Linked DNA regions of Homo sapiens: all the other regions are linked to region 3. Evidence: promoter capture Hi-C in 16 types of primary human blood cells and fetal thymus (Javierre and others, 2016). All regions are on one chromosome and are shown on one strand. The core of a region is centred on a gene start or on the middle of the fragment in contact, and the rest is flanking DNA. Distances in the headings are between cores, read along the strand shown. Region 1 overlaps VPS13C (vacuolar protein sorting 13 homolog C). Region 2 overlaps VPS13C (vacuolar protein sorting 13 homolog C). Region 3 holds the start of VPS13C (vacuolar protein sorting 13 homolog C).

Evidence for each region. Contacts are between HindIII fragments. The CHiCAGO score rates a contact against its expected background, and 5 or more counts as called.
Region 1: a contact is called between a fragment that was not itself captured here and the fragment with the promoter of VPS13C in region 3, in 11 of 17 cell types (naive B cells, total B cells, non-activated CD4 T cells and 8 more). The highest score is 10.3, in naive B cells.
Region 2: a fragment that was not itself captured here is called in contact with the fragment with the promoter of VPS13C in region 3 in 8 of 17 cell types (naive B cells, total B cells, naive CD4 T cells and 5 more); the score reaches 8.8 in naive B cells.

What each region holds. Positions count from the first base shown.
Region 1 is chr15:61,890,080-61,893,970 of GRCh38, forward strand. It overlaps VPS13C (vacuolar protein sorting 13 homolog C), which reads right to left. Exons shown (of 85, transcript NM_020821.3): 67 at 86-321. Among named protein-coding and RNA genes, the nearest start is that of LINC02349, 160 kb to the left of the region's middle. The HindIII fragment of the contact is 3,348 bases long and covers 1-3,306 here.
Region 2 is chr15:61,906,239-61,910,023 of GRCh38, forward strand. It overlaps VPS13C (vacuolar protein sorting 13 homolog C), which reads right to left. Exons shown (of 85, transcript NM_020821.3): 65 at 2,754-2,887; 66 at 1,026-1,152. Among named protein-coding and RNA genes, the nearest start is that of VPS13C, 150 kb to the right of the region's middle. The HindIII fragment of the contact is 323 bases long and covers 1,360-1,682 here.
Region 3 is chr15:62,059,132-62,062,648 of GRCh38, forward strand. It overlaps VPS13C (vacuolar protein sorting 13 homolog C), which reads right to left and starts at 1,316. Exons shown (of 85, transcript NM_020821.3): 1 at 1,144-1,316. The coding sequence starts at 1,243. VPS13C-DT (VPS13C divergent transcript) reads left to right here and starts at 1,372. Exons shown (of 2, transcript NR_135690.1): 1 at 1,372-1,712; 2 at 1,837-3,303. RefSeq lists a silencer at 1,178-1,527 and an enhancer at 1,578-1,627. The HindIII fragment of the contact is 3,439 bases long and covers 303-3,517 here.

The DNA of each region.
Region 1 (3,891 bases), core at 383-2,882, 170 kb before region 3:
GTATCTTTTTACTTTCTTCAAATCGGCTATTATGAACTTAATGCCTTTTAAAGGTTTAGGATGTCTTATTTTCCTTCTTGCATACCTGGTTATCCCAATATAGGAAACTTCCTGCTTGCTTTCATTGTTAACCAGTGAAAGCCCAAGACTGTGGAGAGACAAGGTTATTTCATAATCAGCCTGTTCCATTTCTTCTGCCTGCAGTGCTTTGGAAACCAAGGCAACATCATCGGTGAAAAGCAAAACTCTCTGGCGCCCATCCAGAAATGATACCCAGTGTATCTGGATGTTTGCATCATATGGAAACTGTCCACATCCATCCTGGGAAGAAGAAAGACTTCATTAAACCCACACATAGTAACTTGTTATTATATAAAATTGAACTATAATAACAGAAAGATTAGAAAAGTTTAAGAAGCACTACTATAAATTGAAAAATTCTAACCATCAAAATGACATAAATTAAGCTATAATCTATTTTAAAATATACTCACCAATTATTTTCAAAAACGAAGACTAATAGTACGTAGTTTTTTAATACCTAAGTCTGAATTACCTACTGAGTGCTGAAGGGCACAGAGCAGGATTCAAGAGGATCCTTTGGTGGCACCAATGCAATAAGATGATTCTTTGTCTCCAAGCCGGAAAACAGAATGGTTCGGAAGTTTATTAGAGATGTAACCTTAGCCCAGAGTGGTGGCTCACGCCTATAATCCCAGCACTTTTGGAGGCTGAAGCGGGCAAATCATCTGAGGTCAGGAGTTCGAGACCAGCCTGGCCAACATGGTGAAACCCCGTCTCCACTAAAAATACAAAAATTAGCCAGGCATGGTGGCGGGCACCTGTAATCCCAGCTACTCAGGAGGCTGAGGCACGAGAATTGCTTGAACCCAGGAGACAGAGGTTACAGTGAGCTGAGATAGCGTCATCGCACTCCAGCCTAGGCAACAAGAGCAACACTCCATCTCAAAAAAGAAAGAAAGAAATGTAACCTCAGACAAAACCAGCCTAGCTTATTTTTATATTTTCATGATCTATAACATAGGAAATATTTATGTAAATCACACTGGTGAAGGTTATATGTAGCACTTAAAAATATGAGGCTTGATTTGGTCAGTGTTTTCAGAGGTTAAAATAATAAATTCCACTTTGTTCTGGGTTTAATGAAAATAGAACAGTTCATTTCAATAAGCAGTACGAGTACCTACTATGTACTTTCCATTCCATGCTTTCCAGGGGAGAAAAAAAAACAAAAACAACTGAAGTTACCAAGAGTATAAGAATAGTTGAGTGTCACTAATGTTCAAAATTTACTAATACTTTCAAGGTACATTATGTGATCAAAGATGCCTGCCCAATTTTTTTACTCTAATAAGAAATCAAATTTTCAAACATACCTATTAAGAAGGTGAATTCTGTATCTGTAAACTACAAAATGTGCTATGTATCTTAGTTCACAGTTATTATTCCAATATTATCTGACTCTTGTTTTTCATCTATTTCATGTGAAGTACAATAAAATATCCCCAGGTAATTGTGTTTCAGTTAATTTCTAGCATTTTAAGTTTTATATGTTGATGCAATACTATTCATTGCATGAAGGTTTATGGCTATCACTCCTTCTGTGTCATATTATCATTATCTATTTAATAATTTTGCTTTGAATTGGTCAGAAATTAAAATCAACAGAGGGTGATAACGCCAAAATGGAAGAGTAGAAGCAATGTGGCTTCACTCTTTACCACAGAAAACCAAACATAAACTTCTAGTGCCAAGATTATCATCAGCAATATCCCAGAACTTGAACCTGAGGCTGACACAATTCCTGGAGCCACAGAGAAGTGAAAAGCTCCACGCAGATGGTAACAGAAATGAACTTCTCTACCCACAATGCCTCTCCCCGAATCTGCCTGGCACTGCATGCAGGAAATTCCTCTTAAGCTCACAATTTCTACACTGGATAAAGTGAGATCAAAGCAGAAAGCCAGCTTCCTCACCATCTTGGGCTCCCTTGCAGGAAAACCACTCCTGGCTCAGCCCATGGGAAGCATCACAAGTGCTTTAGGAAGAGAAAACCCCCAAGGGAGGCTACAGACAAAGAGGAGAAGCAGGATTAAAAACTCCAGCCCAAGAATTTCTGCTCTTTATTTCAGCCAAAGGAAACGCCTATTCAGAGTGGCTGTTCAGCAGCACAACACTGTGGGAGGCACAGTCCCTAAGTCTTCTGAGGAGGAACCCTGGGCAGCCTTCCTACATAGCTGGGATATCCCCTTTGAGATGCAACCCCTTCCCCACCACTGGAGACAGTACTGCCAAATGTTTCAGAGAACTGAGGCAAACCAGCAATTATACCACCATCTAGTGCTGAATAGGAGGCAGTGATCTAGGATAAAGGGGACCCAAAGGCAACTGCAAAGGACCTCTAAGCAAACATATTCTAGAAAGACCAAAACAAGCCAGAGAACAAACACTGGAATAAATAAATAATCCTTCAATGTAAAGCCATAGACGCATGTCCACAAGAAACAACAGCAAGCAGGGAACCATGGCCTCCCCAAACAGACAAAGCAAAGTGCCAGTGACAAACTCTGATAAGACAGCCACGTGTGAGTTCTCAGATCAAGAATTCAAAGGAGCAATTCTAGGAAAGTCAGCAACTTCCAAGGCAACACAGAAAAACAATTAAGAAATTTATCAGTGAAATTGAAACAGACTGAAATAATAAAATTAAACAGAAATGCTGGAATGATGAAATAAATTTGCTGAACTGAAAAATGTATTAGAGGCTCTCAACAGCAGACTGGATCAAGTAGAGGATGGAATCAGTTAGCTCTAAGACAGGCTATTGGAAAATACACAGAGGAGAAAACAGAATAAAAAAGAACAAAGAATGCCTGCAAAATATAGAGAATAACCTCAAAAGAGCAAATCTAAGAGTCACTGGTGGTCAAGAGAGAGTTGAGAAAGAGCAAGGGGTAGAAAGTTAATTAAAGAATTAACAAGAAAATACTTTCCCTATTGGAGAAAGATAGAAATACACAGGTAAAGGTCACAGATGACCAAACGGATTCAATCCAAAGAAGACTACCCTAAGGCATATAATAATCAAACTCTCAAGGGCCTATGACAAAGAGAGGACCCTAAAAGTGGCAAAAGAAAAGAAGCAGATAACATATAAAGAAGCTGCAATTTGTCTGGCAACTGACTTCTCAGGAAACCATGCCCTGCAGGAGGCAGTGGGACAACATACTCAAAGTGTTGAAGGGGAAGAAAAACCCTGCCAACCAAGAATATTGTATCCAACAAAGCTTTGTTTCAAACATGACAGAGAGATAAAGTTTTTATCAGATGAACAGAAGCTGAAGGAATTCATTACCTCTAGACACATCTTACAAAAAATGATAAAAGGAGTTACTTGATATGAAAGAAAACAATGTTAAAATGAAAAAAAAATTTGGAGGCATATAACTCACTGGTAAAACTAAGTACACAGACAAATTGAGAATAATCTAACACCATAATTGTGGTGTATAATCCACTCATATATCTAGTATGAAGACTAAAAGACAAATCTATCAAAAATAATAATAATTACAACAACCTCTTAATAGGCAATACAAAAAAGATATAAATTGAGACAACAGAATGCCAAGATGTATGGGGGATGGACTTAAAAGTGTAGCATTTTTTAGTTTTTCCTTTTTGGTTTCCTTGCTTTCCTTTCTGATCAAAGTTAAGTTGTCATTTGTTTAAAATAATGTATTGTGTCTATAAGATGTTTTTTGTAAGCCTCATAGTAACCACAAAGCAAAATCCAATAATAAATATACTAAAAATGCAAAGCAATGAACTAAAAACATACTGTCAGAGAAAAACCACTTAACCACTAAG
Region 2 (3,785 bases), core at 271-2,770, 150 kb before region 3:
AAACGATTTCCTTGCTTATAGCTCAATTTTCAATACGTGGCAGACTATCTGCTGACTGAGGTGGAATCACCCTCTCTTCCTACTGCCTCATTCTCTAACACCAAATAGAAGAGAAACATTAAAAACTGAAATCCCTGACCATGCTGTGAACAGAATTCTTCCCGGATCTCCTTCTATACACAGACCTTGATATCCTCCTCCAGAATGTCATTGCTACCTTCTCTCTAGTATCTACATGCTACTTACTGGGAGCTACAGTTGCTAAGTAGTATCAAATGTGAGGAGAGAAGAAATGAGGATAATTCAGTAACTACTGGCCAATTACCATTTTAAAGCAAAAGTCAAGAAAGCCTTTTAACAGCTGGCATTATTGGACAAGTGAACAATGGACAATGACACTATTTAAACTCTTTCATCATGGATTTTATTCATACAGAAACTGGATGATATATTACTAATGCAGGAGCAATTCCTATATCAGATGGGAGGATGGTATATGAATTCTTTGGGCCCTTTCAGAGGCTAAGAGTCTAAAAAATAACATATTTAATCAACTCAGCTACCTAAATATTGTTTCGATAAATATTTCACTAAATTTCTTACATGCGATAATTTGCATACTATCAGACTTCATTAATTAACAAAATACATAGCTGTGCTTAGGAAAACAAGCTTTAAAAACTCATAGCCAAAAGTGGCATAGGTATGTTCAAAATAAAGTTGTTTTTAACTTAGTCTTACAATTCCTTCCTTTTAAAATAGGTAAATTAATTAAAAAGGTGCTTTACATAGGCAAGATAAAGCAGGTCTATTTTTTAAATTGTAAATAAATTACTTTGATAGAGCTAAGGTAATATACTGGTTTGAACTACAGTATTTGCCATCTAAAGTCCAAAAGCTACTTTTTCTGGAAATACTTCCAATTCACTTTTAGTTCAATTAGGACAAGGAGTCAGTGAAGATAGCTTCTCTACTTCCTTCACTGTCAGGTAACTCATATAGCACTCATTCACATCAAAAGATACCTTTAACAGATCATGTTCCCCAACATTTGCTGCATATGTCCATGTAAGTTTTCTGGTACCAGTAGGATCTGCCCAGGCAAAAAGTCGAGCCTGTCTTGGCAGCAAGACCATTTCTTCTGGTGACCCACTAAAACACAATGAACAGAGAGAAAATCAGAATATCTTGGAGATAAGAAACCCAAACCTGTAGTTTACTGAGGAAGGGATTAGCACAGAAGTCCTACGAAATTGCTGTGGTTAATAAAACACAACTCTACCTAAAAACAAGTACCCTAAAATATCTAATAAACTCATGGTTTTTAAGCTCGGGGAAACAGAATATTGCCCTTTCTGAAGCTTCAATGCACTCGGAATTGATCCAAGTGGAATCATAGCAATGGAATTCATTAGGTAAACAGATTGCCAGATCAGGGTCCACCTGTGGAAATGGCTGTGAAGAGGAAATATGTTTAGTAGCAGAAGAACTTCTATTCAGTGCTTAAATTTAAACATATTTTTTAAAGACAGGGTCTCCCTGTTTCCCAGGCTGGAATGCAGTGTTCATTCACAGGCAAGATCATATTGCACTACAGCCTCAAACTCCTGGGCTCATGAGATGCTCCTACCCAAGCCTCTCAAGTAGCTGTGACTATAGGTATGCATTACTGTGACCAGCTAAGCTTTTTAACAAATACAATACTTAAGATATATTATGGGTCACAGCAACAAAAAAATTATGTTCACACTGTTACTACACAAAGTGTGGTCCGTAAACAGGCAGAATAAGTATTACCTGGGGTCTTGCAGGAAAAGGCAAAGTCCTGGGTCCCATCCAAAACCTACTGAGTCAAAATCTGCATCTTAACAAGACTCCCAGGAGATTTTAAAATTGATTATTACAATTTAAGAAGTATTTGTCCATTTAATGCAAAAAATATTCCAGAGAACTGGGAGAAAAAAAGTAATCCAACTAGGTTTTAATCCTAATCTGTACTTTTAAGTCTCTCACTGGATTCACTCCATTAGAATTAAGACTAGGGAAATCTTTAACAAATTTACATATATACATACATTTATATGTGTGTATATATGCATGAATATATACACATATATACATATGTTAATATAAATATAATTTTATAAATAAAATTATACGATACTTTAAGGGCTTAAATTCTCTACCATTAAATAATGACATCATCCAAAACAAATGACAGCAAAGGCAAGAACAATGAAATTCCTATCAGCCAATGATATACATTCAACACCACTATCTACTCATCGTCTTCTCATTTAACCTTCTACTATCCCTACCCAAAAAAACTAAATACAGATTTATAGGAAGAGGTTCACTGAGCGTTACCAGATTACCAGGAAAGGGAATACTTAAACAGGTTCACTCCCTTATCTGCCATTTTGAAATTTAAAAAGCTCTAAAAGCCCAAAGATTTTTCTGGAAATTTGGTATCAAAACTCATTTGGCGGCAAAACCTGACCTGAATTGATACGAAACTATTAATAATTTCTATTTATCCCATTTGATGTGAATATTCATCAGTTTTGCTGCAGAAATATTAATGTGTTTACAGAGTGTTATCTCAAAACATGTAAGGGTATTAAAGATAAATACCATGTGTTCCATATCACCTTTCTAAAATCTAAAAACATTTTGAATATGAAACCAAAGTGTTTCCCATTAGTTACTATGAACCAATAAAAGTATTTCCCATTAACCCTTTTTTCTCATACCTCTGTTTGTATGTGAGGATGTCCCATGGTGTATGGTTCATTATCAAGGCAGGTGCAGATCCCTCATGGTAATCAGAAAAAGTTATGACAGTTGAATGTTCGGCAGTGTTTACATCCACCAAGATACCCCCATTCTATTGTAGAAAAAAAAAAAGTATGTTTGATGTACTGGTTTAATCTACACTTACATATGGAATTTCAATATTACGTAAAACACAAAAGCTTTGGTTTTTTTCGAGACAGAGTCTTGCTGTCACCCAGGCTGGAGTACAGTGGCGCCATCTCGGGTTACTGCAACCTCCATCTCCCAGGTTCAACCAATTCTCCTGCCCCAGCCTTCCGAATAGCTGGGATTACAGGCATGTGCCACCATGCCCAGCTAATTTTTGTACTTTTTAATAGAGATGGGGTTTCACCATATTGGCCAGGCTGGTCTCGAACTCCTGACCTAGTGATCAGCCCGCCTCGGCCTCCCAAAGTGCTGGGATTACAGGCGTGAGCCTCTGCACCCGGCCTGTTTCCTTAAGTTCTTACTAAAAAGCAAACTGGCTCTGATCTGTTATAAATATATGTTGGCATTATATATTGATATAGCAGCACCTTCAAATAATTACCAGTAAATTTTGATAGCATGGTTTACTGAAATATCTCAAAGCAAATTTTAAAAATCAAAGACATTTTATTTTAAAATATGAAAACTTCATCTATGTCCCTACAAAGGACATGAACTCATCATTTTTTATGGCTGCATAGTATTCCATGGTGTATATGTGCCACATTTTCTTAATCCAGTCTATCATTGTTGCACATTTGAGTTGGTTCCAAGTCTTTGCTATTGTGAATAGCGCCGCTGGAAACCATCATTCTCAGCAAACTATGGCAAGGACAAAAAACCAAACACTGCATGTTCTCACTCATAGGTGGGAATTGAACAATGAGAACACTTGGACACAGGAAGGGGAACATCACACACTGGGGCCTGTTGTGGGGTGGGGGGAGGGGGGAGGAATAGCATTAAGAGATATACCTAAT
Region 3 (3,517 bases), core at 66-2,565:
CACATAAGCAACATAAAAATTATTGAGGTATTATTTTTTTCTCCTACTTCATTAGGAGTAATGCTTATTCAAAACGATGTTTTAATTCATACAGCAAGTCTCAATTAGCACTAACCTCATATCAAGTGCTCCACAGCTACAGTGGCTAGTGGTTACCCTAGTGGACAGGGGAAGTCTATAGCTATTTGTTGTTGCTTGAATTAAAAGCAGATCCATACATTTGAGTCGTTTTTTGAATTTTCCTCCAAAGCTGACAAAGTTCCCAAACCTTTTGTGGAGTGAGAAAGTCCCAAAGTCCTCAAAGCTTAACACGTAATTCATGCAAACGATTAAGCTCGTTGAAGAGTGTATGTTTAAGTACACTATTTCCTGAATACTTTTATACACTTAATCTCCAGGATAAAAACGTTGGCATAAATTCCTGAGCATGCAACCAAGCAGACACCTAATTAATGACGATGCTGGTCGAGGCTTGAATTTCTCTCTATTGCTCCAAAACAAAATTCAAAATCCTCTTCGTATTGACGGAAAAGTAAATATTAAAGGAAGAAATCATTTTCACAGGAGCTGAAAGCATTAAGAGTAAGAATCCCTAAGCACACGCCTATCTTAAAGATCTCCTGCCCGTTCCTCTCCAAACCCGGTAATCCTAAAGAGAAGGAACCCAGTTCTTGCTCCCTGTAAAATGATAGTGAAGATAACTGCGAGATGCAACTTCCTCCTTTTTTCTTAGTGCCACTTCGAGCGTATATGACCAGACAACCATGCTCACTCCACGCGATACCGAAACAGAAAGGGCTCTGTTTTTATGCTGTAGGGCCAAAGGGGCCACCCTGAGTGCAGCGAGAGGACCACAGAAACGGGCAGGGCGGGGACAGCAGGGCCAGGGCTTGGCCTCGGGGGACGAGAAAGGTGGGAACTTTGGCAGCGCGGGCGGGATCCCGCCGCATCTCCCCAGCCGGAGTCGGGACTGGGACCCCGAGAATCCGCGGGCGGCAGAGGCTCCCGCATCTAGCACCTGCCGCACCGGGATGGGGAGTCTCAGGCGGCGCAGGGAGCAGGGCCCGGGCAGAATCCCGGACGGAGCAGCCCTCGGCTGGGCCCTCAGCGCCCGCAGCCCACTGGCCGCGCCCTCTCGCTTACCGCCCCAGATGCCCAGCTTCAGCTGGGACTTGTTCAGGTTCTCCACATAGTCCCCCAGGAAGCGGTTCAGCAAGTCCGCGACCACCGACTCCAGCACCATGGTGGCGCTGAGGCACAAGGAGAGGGAGGAGCCGGAACCGCCCGGCGCAGCTGAGGGCTGCGACCAGCGCTGCAAATGACAGCCCCTCCGGCGCAGGCCCACCCCCGCGCCGCGCGCGTGACCCCGCCGGTGCGCAGGCGCGCTGTCGCCCGGCCGGTAGCTAAGGAGGCCCAGCTGTGATCCCGAGGCTTTGTAGGCGCCGCAGCCCTGGCCCTCTAGAGGCCGACGGAGGAGTGCGGGGGAAGTTAGCTTGCGCCTGTCTCGTCAGCCGTGCACGAGAAAAAAAAGGACCTTCGAGAAGAACAAGGGAGGGCAAGAGTTACCGAGTACAGGGACATCTATGTGGCCGCTCTGCTTTCCCGCCGTCACCTGCTGTTGAACTCCGGCCGCATCGCGGTGTCCGGAGCCGCCTGGCCTGGAGTATGCGCTGAGCGTCACCTAGGCAACCACCCCTGCACCTGTGGATCAGGTGGGGGAAAGGGACCGACCGCGTTCTTGTCCTGCTAGAGTTCGACTCCGCCTGGGGCTTGGTCTCTGCTTCTTGAAAACATTGTTTTTTTATTTTGTTTCTGTTTTGTTTTGTTTTGAGACAGGGTCTCGCTCTGTTGCCAAGGGTAGAATGCAGTGTCGGGATCATAGCTCACTACAGACTTGACATCCTGGACTCAAGAGATCCTCCTGTGTCAGCCTCCCGAGTAGCTGGGACCACTGGCGCGCGACAAATAATTTGAAAGTGGGAGGAGGGGAACAGAACCACATCAAATGGCAGATATCATAGAATGAGAACTGAATATACGCGTTTTGTGGGAAACGCGTTCTTTTCCCCTTTCTCTAAGATTCGCTTTTAATTCACTAGCCACTAACCAGTTACCTATCTCATTACAGATATAAAAAACAAAACGTAGTAGTGCCTTTTTAAGTATGAGTTACTTGTTATTTATATATCACTTTCTTCCATGCTATCGTTGAACTGTCTTTGATGTAGCACGACCTTAAAAGCAGAGCTTTTATACCACAAGATCTTTCAACCCTTGTGAAATTTAACCACCCATTGAGATTCACCTCTTTAGAGAACTAGAAATTTTTTCCTAAAATATATTTCAAAAAGTTGTTGAGATACAGTACACAGGAAGAAACCTAAGAAATGCTGATTATTTGTAGTCACAAGCATTAATAAGTGCTTTGCTACGAGGAAGTGTCTGAGAAACTATTCGTGTATTTTTCTTAAACAACCTAGGCTTGCACAGGATCACAAAGAAAAATCTTAAATTCAAAGTCCGCTGGAGAAGAAAGAAAATCAAAATGGCTACAATTGGTGTTGTGTATTAAATAAAATTAAAAGTACAAAGAAAGACCCAGTCAGTACTAACTAGTACTATCAAGATCACATTCCTCTCCCACTTTTGCACACTCCATTCCTCTTTAAGAAGATAAATCCTTAACCGTCTGTTTTTCCTAGCTGGTCACAAAGACAAAATACTAGTAAGTACTTTGGATTTCTTCACCATCCACAACCAAATAACAGCCTAACCTGTCTATTTTGCTTTTGCCATCTTTCCTAAATTCTCCATGTTTTTCTTCTGGACCATGCCATCCATCTCCTTGAAATTCACTTCCTAGCCTCCAGTTATTCCTTCCTCCAGTCTATTCTCATGAACACCGGATGTGTTTTCCCAAAGCACAGGTGAGCTTAGGTTAGTCACCTGCTCAAAAACATCCAATAACTTCCCAGTGTTTAGAACACTCTCTTCAAACTTTCTCCACGTTCTTTCTAGTCATACACTCTAACAATCCCGCTTCCTTTTTACATTCACACTGACTATGCTCCAAGAGGAATGTAAAGAAGCAATATATGTTCTGGTTGAGATAAGGCATGTACCATAAAAAGTTAAGAAAGAAGCCAATCCAAGGATGTATGAATAACAGTATAAGATGATAGGAAAGATGGCACAGGCAACATAGCTTGGTCAAGCAGGTGGAGCAATAGGCACAATCTCTTGGGAGAAGTGAGTAACACTAATGCTTTGTCTAATAAAGTAATTCCTTACAGTTCTATGGTATAACTTGGTAATTTTGAAAGAATAATGTGTAAATGTGCTTTCATATGCATCATTCAATTTTATTATGTTTCAGTTATACTTTGTAAGGCCTCATGTCATTATTATGCGAAGGTAGGCATTTTTGTGTACTCCTCACAAAAGAGCTGTGAGGTAGCTAATGCAGGTAGTAGTATGGTCCTCATTTTACAGAAAAATTAAGCTCGGGAATGTTAAG